Regions from separate parts of the Homo sapiens genome. Here region 2 is linked to region 1. The links are contacts of gene promoters, found by promoter capture Hi-C in human tissues and cell types (Jung and others, 2019). All regions are on one chromosome and are shown on one strand. The core of a region is centred on a gene start or on the middle of the fragment in contact, and the rest is flanking DNA. Distances in the headings are between cores, read along the strand shown. Region 1 holds the start of CNIH2 (cornichon family AMPA receptor auxiliary protein 2). Region 2 holds the start of PITPNM1 (phosphatidylinositol transfer protein membrane associated 1).

What was found. The method cuts DNA at HindIII sites, captures the fragments that hold promoters and counts their contacts. A contact is called where the count stands out against the background at its distance.
Region 2: the fragment with the promoter of PITPNM1 here is called in contact with the fragment with the promoter of CNIH2 in region 1 in 1 of the 25 tissues and cell types used here (heart left ventricle).

Annotation. Positions count from the first base shown.
Region 1 is chr11:66,276,925-66,282,873 of GRCh38, forward strand. It overlaps CNIH2 (cornichon family AMPA receptor auxiliary protein 2), which reads left to right and starts at 1,251. Exons shown (of 6, transcript NM_182553.3): 1 at 1,251-1,613; 2 at 5,335-5,403; 3 at 5,809-5,856. The coding sequence starts at 1,533. RAB1B (RAB1B, member RAS oncogene family) reads left to right here. Exons shown (of 6, transcript NM_030981.3): 6 at 1-568. It overlaps LOC107984340 (a long non-coding RNA gene), which reads right to left and starts at 1,601. Exons shown (of 2, transcript XR_001748274.1): 1 at 1,571-1,601. RefSeq lists a silencer at 1,027-1,356 and an enhancer at 5,522-5,949. The HindIII fragment of the contact is 9,186 bases long and covers 1-5,320 here.
Region 2 is chr11:67,500,056-67,506,680 of GRCh38, forward strand. PITPNM1 (phosphatidylinositol transfer protein membrane associated 1) reads right to left here and starts at 5,308. Exons shown (of 24, transcript NM_004910.3): 1 at 5,133-5,308; 2 at 4,048-4,166; 3 at 2,449-2,663; 4 at 2,237-2,358; 5 at 1,807-2,031; 6 at 40-366. The coding sequence starts at 4,125. CDK2AP2 (cyclin dependent kinase 2 associated protein 2) reads right to left here. Exons shown (of 4, transcript NM_005851.5): 4 at 6,442-6,625. RefSeq lists enhancers at 3,017-3,766, 3,767-4,516 and silencers at 4,295-4,394, 4,475-4,594, 4,605-4,764, 4,975-5,604. The HindIII fragment of the contact is 15,242 bases long and covers 1-6,625 here.

The DNA.
Region 1 (5,949 bases), core at 1-2,500:
AGACAGACCCATGCGCTGCCTGCCCACCGTGCCCCTTTGTCCCCATGTCAGGCGGAGGCGGAAGGCCCACCGTGCCAGAGGCTGGGCACCAGCCTTAACCCTCACTCTGCTAGCACCTCCTCCCTTTCCCCAAGGTAGCACATCTGGCTCACTCCCCACTCCGTCTCTGGAGCCCACCAGGGAAGGCCCTCATCCCCTGCCGCTACTTCTCTGGGGAATGTGGGTTCCATCCAGGATTGGGGGCCTCTCTGCTCACCCACTCTGCACCCAGGATCCTAGTCCCCTGCCCTCTGGCACAGCTGCTTCCTGCAAGAAAGCAAGTCTTTGGTCTCCCTGAGAAGCCATGTCCCTCGTGCTGTCTCTTGCCTGTCCCACCTGTGCCCTGCCCTCCAGCTTGTATTTAAGTCCCTGGGCTGCCCCCTTGGGGTGCCCCCCGCTCCCAGGTTCCCCTCTGGTGTCATGTCAGGCATTTTGCAAGGAAAAGCCACTTGGGGAAAGATGGAAAAGGACAAAAAAAATTAATAAATTTCCATTGGCCCTCGGGTGAGCTGAGGGTTTTTGCAAGGAAGTTGTGGTGGCCAAGTGTGGTCTGTGGTCTAAGCCCAGCCTTGGGGTGGGGGGATGGAACTGGAACCCTGGGCTTGGTGGGGTGCACGGGGGTCCTGGCTTGGTTTCTGTGTCCTAAGGCTGCTGGCAAAAGCCCTTGACCCCGTTTCCTGAGGCCAGGAAAGCTGCTTGTGCTTCTGTGGTCTGTCCCCAAGGGCCCAGCACCGTTCTGTCAGGGAAAGAGGCAGGCGGCCATCAGCTCATACCTGGCGTGCCGCCGCCAACTCCCGCGGGGCACACGGCAGAGGTGTGGGGTCGCGCAGCCGCTGAGAGGGCCCCCACTGCACCTGGCCCAACCTCCTTCAGCGCCCCCCAAAACCCCACTGCTCCCATTCAGCCCCTGTCCTGGCGTCATTGTGTGTCCCAGCCAGGTGCTTCTGCCGTCTCCGACAGTGACAAGTGCCTCGCACTTCAGCCTTTGCCCTGAGCGCCCGCCCGAGGGGGCCGAGTGCGGCTGTGCCGGTGGCTGGAGTGCCGAGGGGTGCGGGGTGCCGGGGGCGGCCGCGTCTACGCTGTCCGGAGGGTGAACGGCCGCGGGCTTGTCGGGGCTGGGGGTGGCGCCCGAGCCGGGCGGGCAGACGAGGGGCCCGCGGAGACCCAGCCCCGCCCGAGGCCGCTCGCGCGGCGGCCCCGCCCCCGGCTCCGCCCCGCCGGCTTCGCGGGCTGGAGAGCGAGGGAGCCGCGGGCGAGGGATCGCAGGATGAGCGATCGGGGCCCGGGCAGCCGGCAGCGGACGCGCCCCCCGAGCCCACCGGCCCGCGCCCCGCGCCCCCCACGGCCCCGCGGTCCCGGTCCCGGCCGCATCACCCACGTCCCCCGAGCCCCACGGGCCATGCCCGGCCGGCCCTAAGCGCGGGCCGGGGGGCGTCCCCTTGCGCCCGGGCCCCGCGCTGGCGCCCCCCGGGCCGCCGCCCGGCGCGGGGGCCATGGCGTTCACCTTCGCCGCGTTCTGCTACATGCTCACCCTGGTGCTGTGCGCCTCCCTCATCTTCTTTGTCATCTGGCACGTAAGGCCGGGCTGGGGCTGGGGCTGGGGGCGGGGTGGGGGGCAGGGGCCACGCGGAGCTGGAGGGACCCAGGGCGGGTGGTCTCAGAGCCCAGGGGAAACTTGCTATCCCCCAGCCGTCGGCTTGTCGGCTTCGCCCCCATTAACACCCCCCGTGGTCGGCTTTCTTCCCGGGGCCCCCCTTCCTCCGCCGCCCCCGCCTGTCTGTGTGTATGTCAGTCGGTCTCTGACCCCCTCCTCTGCCCTCGTCCTCTGCTCCCATGCAGCCCGTGAGGTGGGGGGTGGAATTCTGGCATTTTTGTTGCTTTATCTTCTATGTCCCCCCCCACCACCATCCAGCCGCCTCCATTAGTCCGTCGGGCAGTTTGTCTGTCTGCTGCCCCCCCCCCCCCGCCTTTGTGGGTTTTTCCAGCCAGAGTGATGGAGCTGGTTGCTATGGCAACTGCATCTGTTTACAGGACCCACAGATCTCAGAGTCCATTAACCCTTTGCCTTCCCAGCCCCCTCCCTGACCAAGCAGCAGTTGGCTCTCATCAGCCCCCAGAGACCTAGCCCCCACCACCGGCTCACCTTGGGTTTCCCTACCCCTCCTGTTGGGGGCTTCCCAGCCCCCCAGGTTTCCTCTCCATTTTCCAGCTTCCCTCCTCTTCCTGTCCCCCTTCCCCTTTGTCTCTCACATACCCCTTGGTCTGTCCCTCGCCCTGGCCTAGCCTCACACCTGGTTCTTCAAAATGTCCATTCCTCATCCTGCATCCGACCCATCGCTTCCCCCAGGCTCCCTCCTCCTCCCCTCCCGCTCCTCTCCTCCAGGGCCTCCTCTGCCTGGCTCCCGTCCCCTCACTACAGAACTATCAATCAGCCTCCAGCTGGTTGTTGGGGGCCCCTGGCCCCACTTTACTGCCCTCCGTCCCCACCCCCACCCAAACCCCGTGCCTGTTTCTGTAACAGCCTGCCCAGCTCGGCCCTGGCTGGCTCAGCTCAGCATCCTCTGCTCACACCTCCCGCGCACACCTCCCTGATTGTCATTCCCTTTCAGGGGTCCTCTTATCCCTCCCTCAATCCCATTTCCCATAGCCCTTCCCTCCTTCCTCCCGGTGCCTCACCTGCTTCTTTCCCGGGCTCTCCACTTCCTCTCTCCTTTCTCTTCCTGGGACCTGCCGCCTGCTCCATGGTTCCCCCTGCGCTCCCTTTGCCATCCCCTGCCACCTTGCTCTTTGACATCGGGAATCCATAGACTGAACCCCTACTGTGTGAAGAGTGAGCCCCCAAAGGCACCTCAGCACACACCCCAGCTCCAGCCCTGTCACTCCTTGGCCTGGCTCTGCTCTCTCTCTGGGTCTTGGTTGCTTTGTCTTTCCCCCTCTCCCCCGCACCCCGAGTTACTCTATTTTTCTTTCTGTGGGGTAGGGGCAGGAGGGCTAGGGTTCTAAGGACTGGAGGGAGCTGGGGGCCACAGGCTAGGGAATGCAGAGCTGACCAGCTCCTGGGAGAAGGGCTCCTGGAATTCAAGAAGCCTCTTTTTGGGGCCTTCCCCACCCAGGGCCTTCCCACAGCCCCTGTGGGGTCCCTGTCCTCAGGGGATCCTCAGCAGTTTATCCACCACGCCTGCATTGATGCTTCCCAAAGATCAGGCTCTGGGTGGCTTTGAGGGGGTCAAGGATGAATAAAACCCAGACTTTGCCCTTGTGGAGTGCCCAGGCTGGGAGGAAAGGCCCAAGCTTTGAAGAAATGTCTTTGTTCATTCAACAGATATTGATTGAGCACCTGTGTGAGGTACTCTGTCCACTCAGCCATTTAGCTGGACAATCTTAGCAAGTCATTTGTCCCAAGTCTGGTTCCTCGCCGGCAAAGTGGACCTGTGCACATCAGAGTGCCTAGTGCGGCCTGCTGGGTGGTAGGGGATAGGAGGCGTGGTCCTCAGTCCACAGCTGCTAAGAACTAGACTCTTAACAGGGCGGGACCCCAGATCCCACTCCAGACCCTCAGCCCAGGCCCCAGTGGTTCCTAGGCAACCCTGGCGGTGAGTGACGCGTGTCAGCTGTCACCATGGGGGATTGTTTGTTCCGGGGGGCTGAGTCAGCGCCAGGCAGCCTGGGGGGTGGGAGGGGTGACGCCCGCCGCCTGCTGGTGGTGCCAGCTCTGGGGTACAGACGGCACCCTTCTGCTCCCTGTGGACCCTGTTGCTGTGCGTGCCAAGTGGCGCTGCCCAGAGTCAATGGGGAGCTGGGCGGGGAGGGGGGATGATCCAGATGGCCTCAGCTCCCTCCAGGAAGCCCATGTTCTTTCTCTCTGAGCCGTCTGGGGCCTGGGATGCCTGGGGGTGGTGGGCCTGCTGCCTCATCCTAGGGCTGGAGCCGACAGGAGGGGACCCCAGCAGGCTCCTCTGCCAGCCCATTTCCCCCAAGTCACCTGTCAGCTCCTTCCCATCCCATCATCCCCTCAAACACTTGCTCCCCTGGAGAGTTTCCACCCGTGAGGACACTGCCGTCTGCCAGACACCCCAACACCTGAAGCCACCTTAGATTTCTGCCTTCACTTCTCAGCCATTTGAACCCTCTGGAGTCTGGCTCCTAAAGAGCTGTAGAATCCCATGCACGCCTTCCGTCTCCACTACAACTCTCCTCACTCAGACCACCATCAGCCCTGCCCCTAACCCTCCAAACCGTCCCCTTGCTGGTCTGGCCTGAGTATGACACAGTGGTTAGGAATTTTAACTCTGGAGTCACACTGGGTTAGAATCCACTAACCAGCCGTGTGGCCCTGGACAAGTCACTTAACCTGCCTCAGCTTCCTCATCTGCAAAACAGACATGAAAATAAAACTAGTACCTAAGTCATAAGGTTGTTAAGAATTAAATGAGTGAATCCACATACCGGCCAGGAGAAGCACCACTTAGATCTCAGCTGTGACTGTCAGTGAGCTCGGATTTCCTGCCCCACCAATCCTGAGACATGGACCAATCCTAAGACATGGACCTGACCACCCCACTCTGCTGCTGTGTACTCTTCAATGCCTCCCCCCAAAATTTTTGTGTTAAAGTAAGTCCAAACTCCTGCTCTGGCCTCACAGGGCGCCCATGTCTGGCTCTGCTGAATTCTCCAGCTCCTCTTCCACCACTCTCTCTTTTCTTCCTGCTCGCTGCGCTGTCACGCCAGCCCCATGAAACCCGCAGCCTCCTGAATGTCTCCTGACCTTTCACCCCTCTGCCATTGCACCTTCTACTGCTTGGACTGCATTTCCCCCATTTGCTCACCAACACCTACTCCGAGTCCAGCCTGAACTCCCTCACCCCCCACACAGGGTTAAGCGCCCACTCCAGGTCCTCCCTGTACCCCAAACCCTGATCACCTGGAAGGCAGAGTGATCATCCCTCTGGGCCTGGGTTCCTCCTGGGCAGGGGCTGCATCCCAGGCCTCTGGAGCCCCAGTGCTCAGCACAGGGCCTGAGACTTGGCAGGGCAGACACGAAGCCATGTCTTGGGATGTTTTGGAAGGGGGTGTAGTGGACATGGGCCTGAACTGGGCATCCAGACGCTAGGGTTCCCTTCTGGACTGTTGTAATGACCTTGGACCAGGCCCTGCTCCTCCCTGGACCTCGGTTTCTCCACCTTTGCAACAAGCTCCACCTGGCTGGTCCTCTTCAGTAAACTATCCCACAGAAGGACTTGGGGGAAGGCCATAAGCTGCTGCCCCAACCCTGACGGGCACACGCCCCTCCCCCAGATCATAGCCTTTGATGAGCTGCGGACCGACTTCAAGAACCCCATCGACCAGGGGAACCCTGCGCGGGCAGTAAGTGATACATGTGCTGTGCCGAGGTGTGTCCGTCCGTCTGTCTTTCCATCTGTCGTGGGCTGGGGGTGGGAGACGGGAAGACGGGGGTGGGGTGGGGGGCCTACGGCCATGCCCCCTTCCTCTCTGTCTCCGCCCCCAGCAAACACCTGGCGCGGGCTCAGGGCTGAGTTCCTCTTGGCGGGGCGGTGGTTGCCAGGCTCTGGGCCGTTGCCATGGAGACGCGGGTGAAGGCCCTTCCATGGTGACGGTCGCCATGGGGACGGCGCGGCTGCTTCCCGGCCGTGCCGACAGTGCCGCAGAGATCGCTCTGGCGCCCCCTGGCGGCCACATGTGGAGCGGTGGGAGCTGCTCCAGTACCTGCTTCTCCGCCACCCCATCGCGGCCTTTTCCTTCCCCCAACAGCGCGAGCGTTTAAAAAACATCGAACGCATCTGCTGCCTCCTGAGGAAGGTCAGTGTCAGGGCTGGGGGCAGGAGGCTCCTAGCCCAGCGCTGCCCCCACTGTCTGTGGCCCAGAACCAGGCCTTCCCCTGCTTTGGGCCTG
Region 2 (6,625 bases), core at 4,058-6,557, 1.2 Mb after region 1:
GGGAGGGCCGTTCCTCCCATCCCTGTGCCCCAGCCTCACCTCCATGTTGGGATGAGTAGGAGGAACGGGAGGATGAGGACCACTGCTTCCCAAAGCTGGCATCGGGGGAGGCATCTGGGCCTGGGGGGGCCTCAGGCCCATCGGGGGTGCCAGTGTTGCTGGCCGCAGACCGGGCCTCGGTGCTCGGTTTCCCGGGGGGCTGGGCCTCGGACCCCTCACTGCCTGTGTTGCACTTGGCCATGCGCTGGGCCAGCATGCGAGCAGTCTCCTCTTCCAGTGCCCGGATGTCAGCCATGCTCAGCTCTGTCCACTCATCCTGCCAGCACCAGGCCTGGCGGTGGGCCCGCAGCATCACCCGACGCAGACCTGCAGGTGCCCAGGCGTCAGAACTGCCCCCTCCCCCTGCTTCCCTGCCACCGCAGCTACATGCCCAGCCTTGAGGTTGGATAATGGCTCCCCTGGGGACACCACCCACCCAGAGCCACAAAGTAGGGCAGGGCCAGTGCAGTCCAGGAATGGGAGTGGAAAGTGGGGCATTTGTCTTCCTGCCTGACTCCCCCCCGCCCACTGCCTTTCCTGTCTCTCTGCACACCCTAACTCTCAGCACTGTCCCCACCCCATCACTCCAGAAGCAGGGACCAATGCTTGTTCTTGCTTTTGGCTGGCTTCCTGCTGACTTCTGAGGAATTAACAGTTAATTAAGGGTTTAACAGTTAATGAAATTGTTGATGGTTAATGAAGGTGTTAACAGTTAATGGAAGTGTTGGCACTCAATGAAGGTTGTAGCGAAAGATGATACCCATTCTGGGATATTTTTATCTTAAGCAGAAGAAAAAGTTAGAAACTCTTAAATGTCTAGGAAATAAAGTAATGATGGTTGAATGATAATTATAAACTTCTGCGAGGAGATATATTGGAATCTTAGTAGTGGCTATATTTTTCTTATTTGTGCTTTTTGGCATTTTTCCAAATGCAAGACAAGGCGTCCTCATTATTCTCTAAGCTGAATTTCCTCACCTGTAAAATGGGAATAATCATCGTCATTACCTGGTGGGGTGTTGTGGGTGTTAAGGGAGATCTTGCACAAAAAGTAATTAGCCATGGGTCTGTGTGTCGCAATCACTGTCAGTATTAGCTCTTCATATCTGACTCAACCTCTTCCTCATTTACTGAAGAGAAATTTAAAGTGCAGAGATGGCCAGTGCCTTGCTGGAGGTACCATGGGGTGGGGGTCAGTAGTGGGACAGAAGCCAGGCCGCTGGTCTCTCCAACTAGGGACCATCCCTCTGTGTGCAGATGACCTGGGCACTGAGGCAGGGCTGAATTGTAGGCGTGGTGGGGTCAGGTTGAGGGGAGGTGTGGGACTGGGGCTCCTGAACACCAGGGCCAAAGGCTGGAACACTAGAAACTGGGAGTGGAGGTGGGGAATCCCAGAGAGAATGACATCAGAGTCACAGCCTCAGCCTGCACTCCTTAGCATGCTGCCAGTTAGAGCCGGTGACCTTCCTGAGTGTCTCTAAGTCTCATCTAACTCATAGGATGATGGAGAATCTTAGAATCTTAATGGAAGCAGCAGCATTTCTGAATGTCAGAGCCAGTATGGACCTTGTAGATCATGTTACCAGCTTCCTGCTCTGTGGATGCCTGGCTAGGCTGTGCGGCCGCTTCTGCCCTAGTGCTCCCCACCTCAAATGGAAACGATGGCTTTCTGCTTCTGTGTCCCCAGTGGATGGGAGCATCCCTGGCCCTAAACATGGGGTCTGGGGCATGCTGGGTAAGTGGGACCTCCCGCAGCTGGGTGCTCACCTACATCATGGATGAACTGCTCGATCTTGGCTTGCATGCCCCAGTAGCGGAACTCAACCTTGCACAGCTTATAGGCACACATAAGGGGCCCCGTCTGTGCCGCCGTCCGTGCCCAGTCATCAGACAGTGGCCCTCGGCCCGTCTTGACCGAGTGATAAAGCCGGGGGTCCTCTTCTGCTTTGTACTCGCCTGGGGCCACTGCATCCCGCACGATGTCGATGGTGTCTGAGGGAGTTCGGCAAGCATTGAGCAGCGCCAGCCCCTTTGAGCCCCCGCTCCTGGCACCCTCTTGGGACTGGATGACAGTTCCCGTCCTTTTGCAGACAGGACATGAGGCCTGGAGAGGGCTGGGACTTCTCAGAGGCTGCCCACTGAGGCAGCCAGGAGCCTGAGAGGGGCGCCAGGGTCCCCCCATAGCTCCAGGCCTCACCCAGGATGCGCTGTCTCCTCTCGGCCCCGCTCAGGTTGAAGACGTTTGGCTGCTGCCCCCCATCAGGCAGGTAATAGGTCTCAATTTCAATGGAGAATTTCTCCACGAAAGGGCAGGTGTACCTGGGCAGAAGGCACGGGTGAGGCTCACTGCTGTACCCACCAGGGCCGCTCCCCTCCTGGCCTCGGACCATGCCCAGCTCACCCACTCACCGGGTTCGGGTGTAGGGGTAGGCATTCCAGGATTCCTCTTCTACCTGCAGGGCAGCCTTGGGCAGCAGTGCCCGGAACCAGCCTGGGATGTGGGAGCCCACGTGGTACACCTTGTGTGTGTATTGCCCGCTGCCCCCGGGCCCATCCGTGTAGGGCCGGTTGGCCAGGATCTCCACGCCGCTGCCCTCACCACTAGACTCCTCCCGGCTCTTTTTCTGTGGCCCAAGGGAGAGCAGGACAGGGAGCTCAGCCCCAGCTTAGCATCTGGGATCCCCAGCTCAGCCTGGTGTTCTACACAGCTCTGGGGCCCTGGTCCCAGCCTTTTCAACTCCCTGAAACCAGACCCCGCCCCACCAAAGCTCCCTGGGATCAGAATCACAGATGCAGCCCAGCCCCGCATGGGGTCTGCAACCCAGCACTCAGTTGAGTCATTCAAGTATTCATTGAGTGTCTGCTCCACTCCAGGCAGTGTTTGGGATTATATCAATTGAGATATATTGATGAATAGAACAAAGATCCCTGCCCTCGTGGAACTTACATTCTAGTGGAAGGAGACAGACAAAAGGAAAAAGCAAATTATGTGGTGTGTTAGAAGGCGCTAGGTGCTATAGGAAAAGAAAGCCTAGAGTAGGGTATAGGTGATGAGGGTTGGGGGCTGCAGTTTTGATCTGATAGTCAGGGAAGGCCTTGCTAATAACACAATGTGACCATGGCTTGAACATGACTTTAAGGAGGTGAGGTAGGAGGAGGTGCTCAAGGCCGGGGGAAGCCAGTGCAGCCCCAAGGTGGGAGCATACTGGATGTGCTGGCAGGTGGCAAGGAGGCCGGGGTGGCTGGCAAGGAAGAAGGGACTAGGAGAGGAAAAGGGGCCTCCAGCTCTCAGAGGCCCTGACCCTGGCCCCCTCCCTCTCTGGGAGGCCCTGGCCGCCTCCCAATCCCAGCTCCGCCACACCCCTCAGAGCTTGAGAGCCCCCAGATCCTGCCTTCTATTGCTCCGGGGCTCAGATGGCCCTTTCAAGCCCGAGGCGGGGTCCGGGCCCTCTTGCTTTATGAGATTCTGGTCCTGCTGTGCTGGGGACAGATCTGGAGCAGACTCCCCCAGGCCCCGCACCAACCCGGCCACTGCTGAGGGCCTGCCCTGGCCCACTCTTCTCACTGCCCTACACCAGAGCCTCCTCGCCCTCCCATCCTTGCTGCCCTGTCCCTGCTCCAGGTTTGACACCTGGTCCTCACCACATCTCCCTGACCTCCAGGGATGGCCAGGACCCTCCACTTCTCCAGACCCCCTCCCGCCTTCCTCTGCCGCGGAGGCCCCCCTCCTCATTCTTGCCGCCTCCTGGGCGCTTTTTCCTTCCCCGATGGGATTACAGATCCTGAGGAGGATTACAGGAGATCAGAGGAGGGCTGGGCACTTAGCGGATGGGAAGCACCACTCGGCCCTCCTGCCCCTCTTCCCACAGTCCTTCCCCATTCCCACATCTGAAGGGGGGCCTCTCTTGCCTCCTCCGGGCTCCCAGCCGGTCCCAGCCCCGGGGCAGGGCTGGCGGGGTCGGCAGGGCTCCACCCCTTGCCCGGGTGCCCTCTCCCCGCCGCCCTCACCTGGATCATGTAGAGCTGGGCCACCTGGTACTCGTCCAGGCTCATGGGCAGCAGAATGTGGTATTCCTTGATGAGCATCCTGAAGGCGCTCGGCGGGCCGCGCGCGGCCTCCGCTCCTCCTGGCGCAGGGCACGGCGCGACAGTCAGTGCGGGGAGGCTGCGCGCGGCCCCGAGCCCTGCGCGCCGGCCGAGGGACTCAGGCCACGGGACCCCATGTCCGGGCCCGCCACGAGGGAGGCAGAGGCGAGCCTAGCACCGCCGCCCGCGCCGCCGGGGCCGGGAGCCGCAGCGAGGCTGAGCGCTGACCTCTTTTCCGCGCAGCCCCCGCCCCCCGCCCGCCCGTCGCCATGGCAACCGCGCGCTGACGCGGGCCCCCCGGAGCGCCAGGCTCCGGCCGGCGGGCGGGAGGGCCACCTCACCTCTCCCGCTGCGACCGCGTCCTAACCCCGGGAAACGGCATCCCTCTGGGCGCGCCCCCGAAGCCCCGGGGCCCCTCCTTCCGGGCCCGCCTTCCGCGACCGGCCCCTCGGGGACCCGCCCCTTGCATCCCCTTCCCGGAGTCGGCGGGGTCCCAAGTCCCCCACTCTCGGACGTCCACCTAGAGCTTTGTTCCCCGAGTGTCTCTGCGCGGAGTGGCCCAGTGCGCCCAGCATCTCTGCCAGGGTTCCCCACGCCCTGCACCCGAACCTACCTTCCGGGACCGGTAATCTCCTCCGCCCTCCAGATCTGCCTTCTTGGGCAGCCGGGTCCTCGACCTCCCCCTCCCAGCATCCTTCCTGGACCCCTGGCCCTCGCCGGCTCTCCACGCGCCTAGGCAGCCACTCCGTCCTCTTCCCAGGGGGTGAGCCCTCCTCAGGCTGAGGCCAGAGTGGCTCCACTTGGTATCCCACGGGCCATGGCCCTGGAGACCCGCTCCGTCCACCTGCGCCCCAGACTGGCACCGAGGTTCCGCTGCAGGCACCCCTCCATCCCCCACTCGCACCCCGCGAGCAAGCGAGAGGCCCCGTTGTCCCCACTTCCCTCTGCTCGCCGGCGTCCCGGTCCCCTGCCGCGCTCTTGGCCCGCCTGCCGACGCCCCGGCTCACCTCTAGCTTGAGGCGGGCGCCCCTCACCCAGCCCGGGCAGGGCCGGCCGGCCCGTGGGTCGGAGCCCGGAGCGCCCCCAGCCCCGGCCTCGGGTTCCAGCGGTGGCCGGACCCTCCCGAGGCGCAGTGCCGGCCCATGGCCCCGACCTTCCTCTCGATCCGCCCGCCGGCGCCCCTGCAGTCCCTCCCCGACGCCCGCCGCGTCACTGCGGCCGCCCCGCCCCCTTCCTGGGCCCGGCTGGCCCTCCCCACCCCGGCGGGGTCCGGGCAGCCCCGCCTGCAGCGGAGGAGGCAGGGAGGGAGGCCCCTGCCTTCCTTCCCCCGGGCAGTGGGAAAAAGGCCATTGCCTAAATTCTGGCTCTTCCTAGTCCCTCTGTGCTGATTGGGGTCCCCAAAGACTCTTAGTTCCTATCTCCACCCTAGCCCAGCCCTCCTGTGTGCAGTCACAGGGTGGTTTGATATGGGGGGTCCCAGGCCCACTCTCCTCTTCTCACTCTCTGCAGTCCTTAGATTTGGGACCCAGGGTTGAGGAAATGCCTCCCCACCAGTCTAGCCAGAAGCTGGTGGCTCTGACATGCCTCCACCTAGGGCTGGGCTCGGCTCCAGGGCCCCAGGCCTCTATGGTCACCCAGCTACACGCCCAGGCAGAAACGGGCTGTCACTGTGAGTGGCTGGGCTAGCCCCTGCATGGTGCCACAAAGCCTCCCCCACCTCTGCCTTCCGGGTCCACAAGTCCGGTCACCCAGCCACCCGGAGTCTGGGCAAAGGCCTCACGAGGCACCCCAAGGCTGGGTTCATGGGATCCCACCCAGCCTGCTACAAGGTGCTGGGGCAGTGACGGCAGCACCCCGCCAGCCCCTCCCCTTGACACTGAGGCCAAGTGCTGGAAGCAGCAGTGCCCTTTCTCTCTGAGAAGTCAGAGACCTTCAGGGCTGATTCAGAGGCTGGGGTGTTGTCAGGGCATTAGGGCGTGTGAGGGAGTGGCTTACGTGAACTGGCATTTCCATGCTGCCAGGCATCACCGCCAATCCAGAGGAAGCGCCCTCCAGGCCCAGGCTGCCCACAGCGCCAAGGGCTGTGGAAGCAGCCAGGCCCTGTGCTGCCCCCTGGTGGCACCACAGGAAGGCCCAGGGCTCTCAGCGCCACGGCTGGGGCGGAGAGGGCCCAGGTCCCACCAAAGGCTGATGGCCTACAGAGGCAAGTCAAACCTCATTTAATCACACCCTCCCCATCCATAGTCTCCTCTTCCCCTGTCTCTGCCTGGCCCACCCAGGCTTAGCTGAAGAACCAGACCCAGAAAGGCTCAGAGCTGAGAGCACAACTCCAAATCATCTTTTATTAATATAAAAAGGGCATATTTAGCAAAAGACACACAGATAAAAGAGTCACTATGGCTCAGGACACAAGGCAGGGAGGTGCCAGGCCTGTGCCCCTGCTGGGGGAGAAGGAGGCTCGGGACAAAGTGGGAGAAGTGCTGGGAAGGGCTGAGCGGTA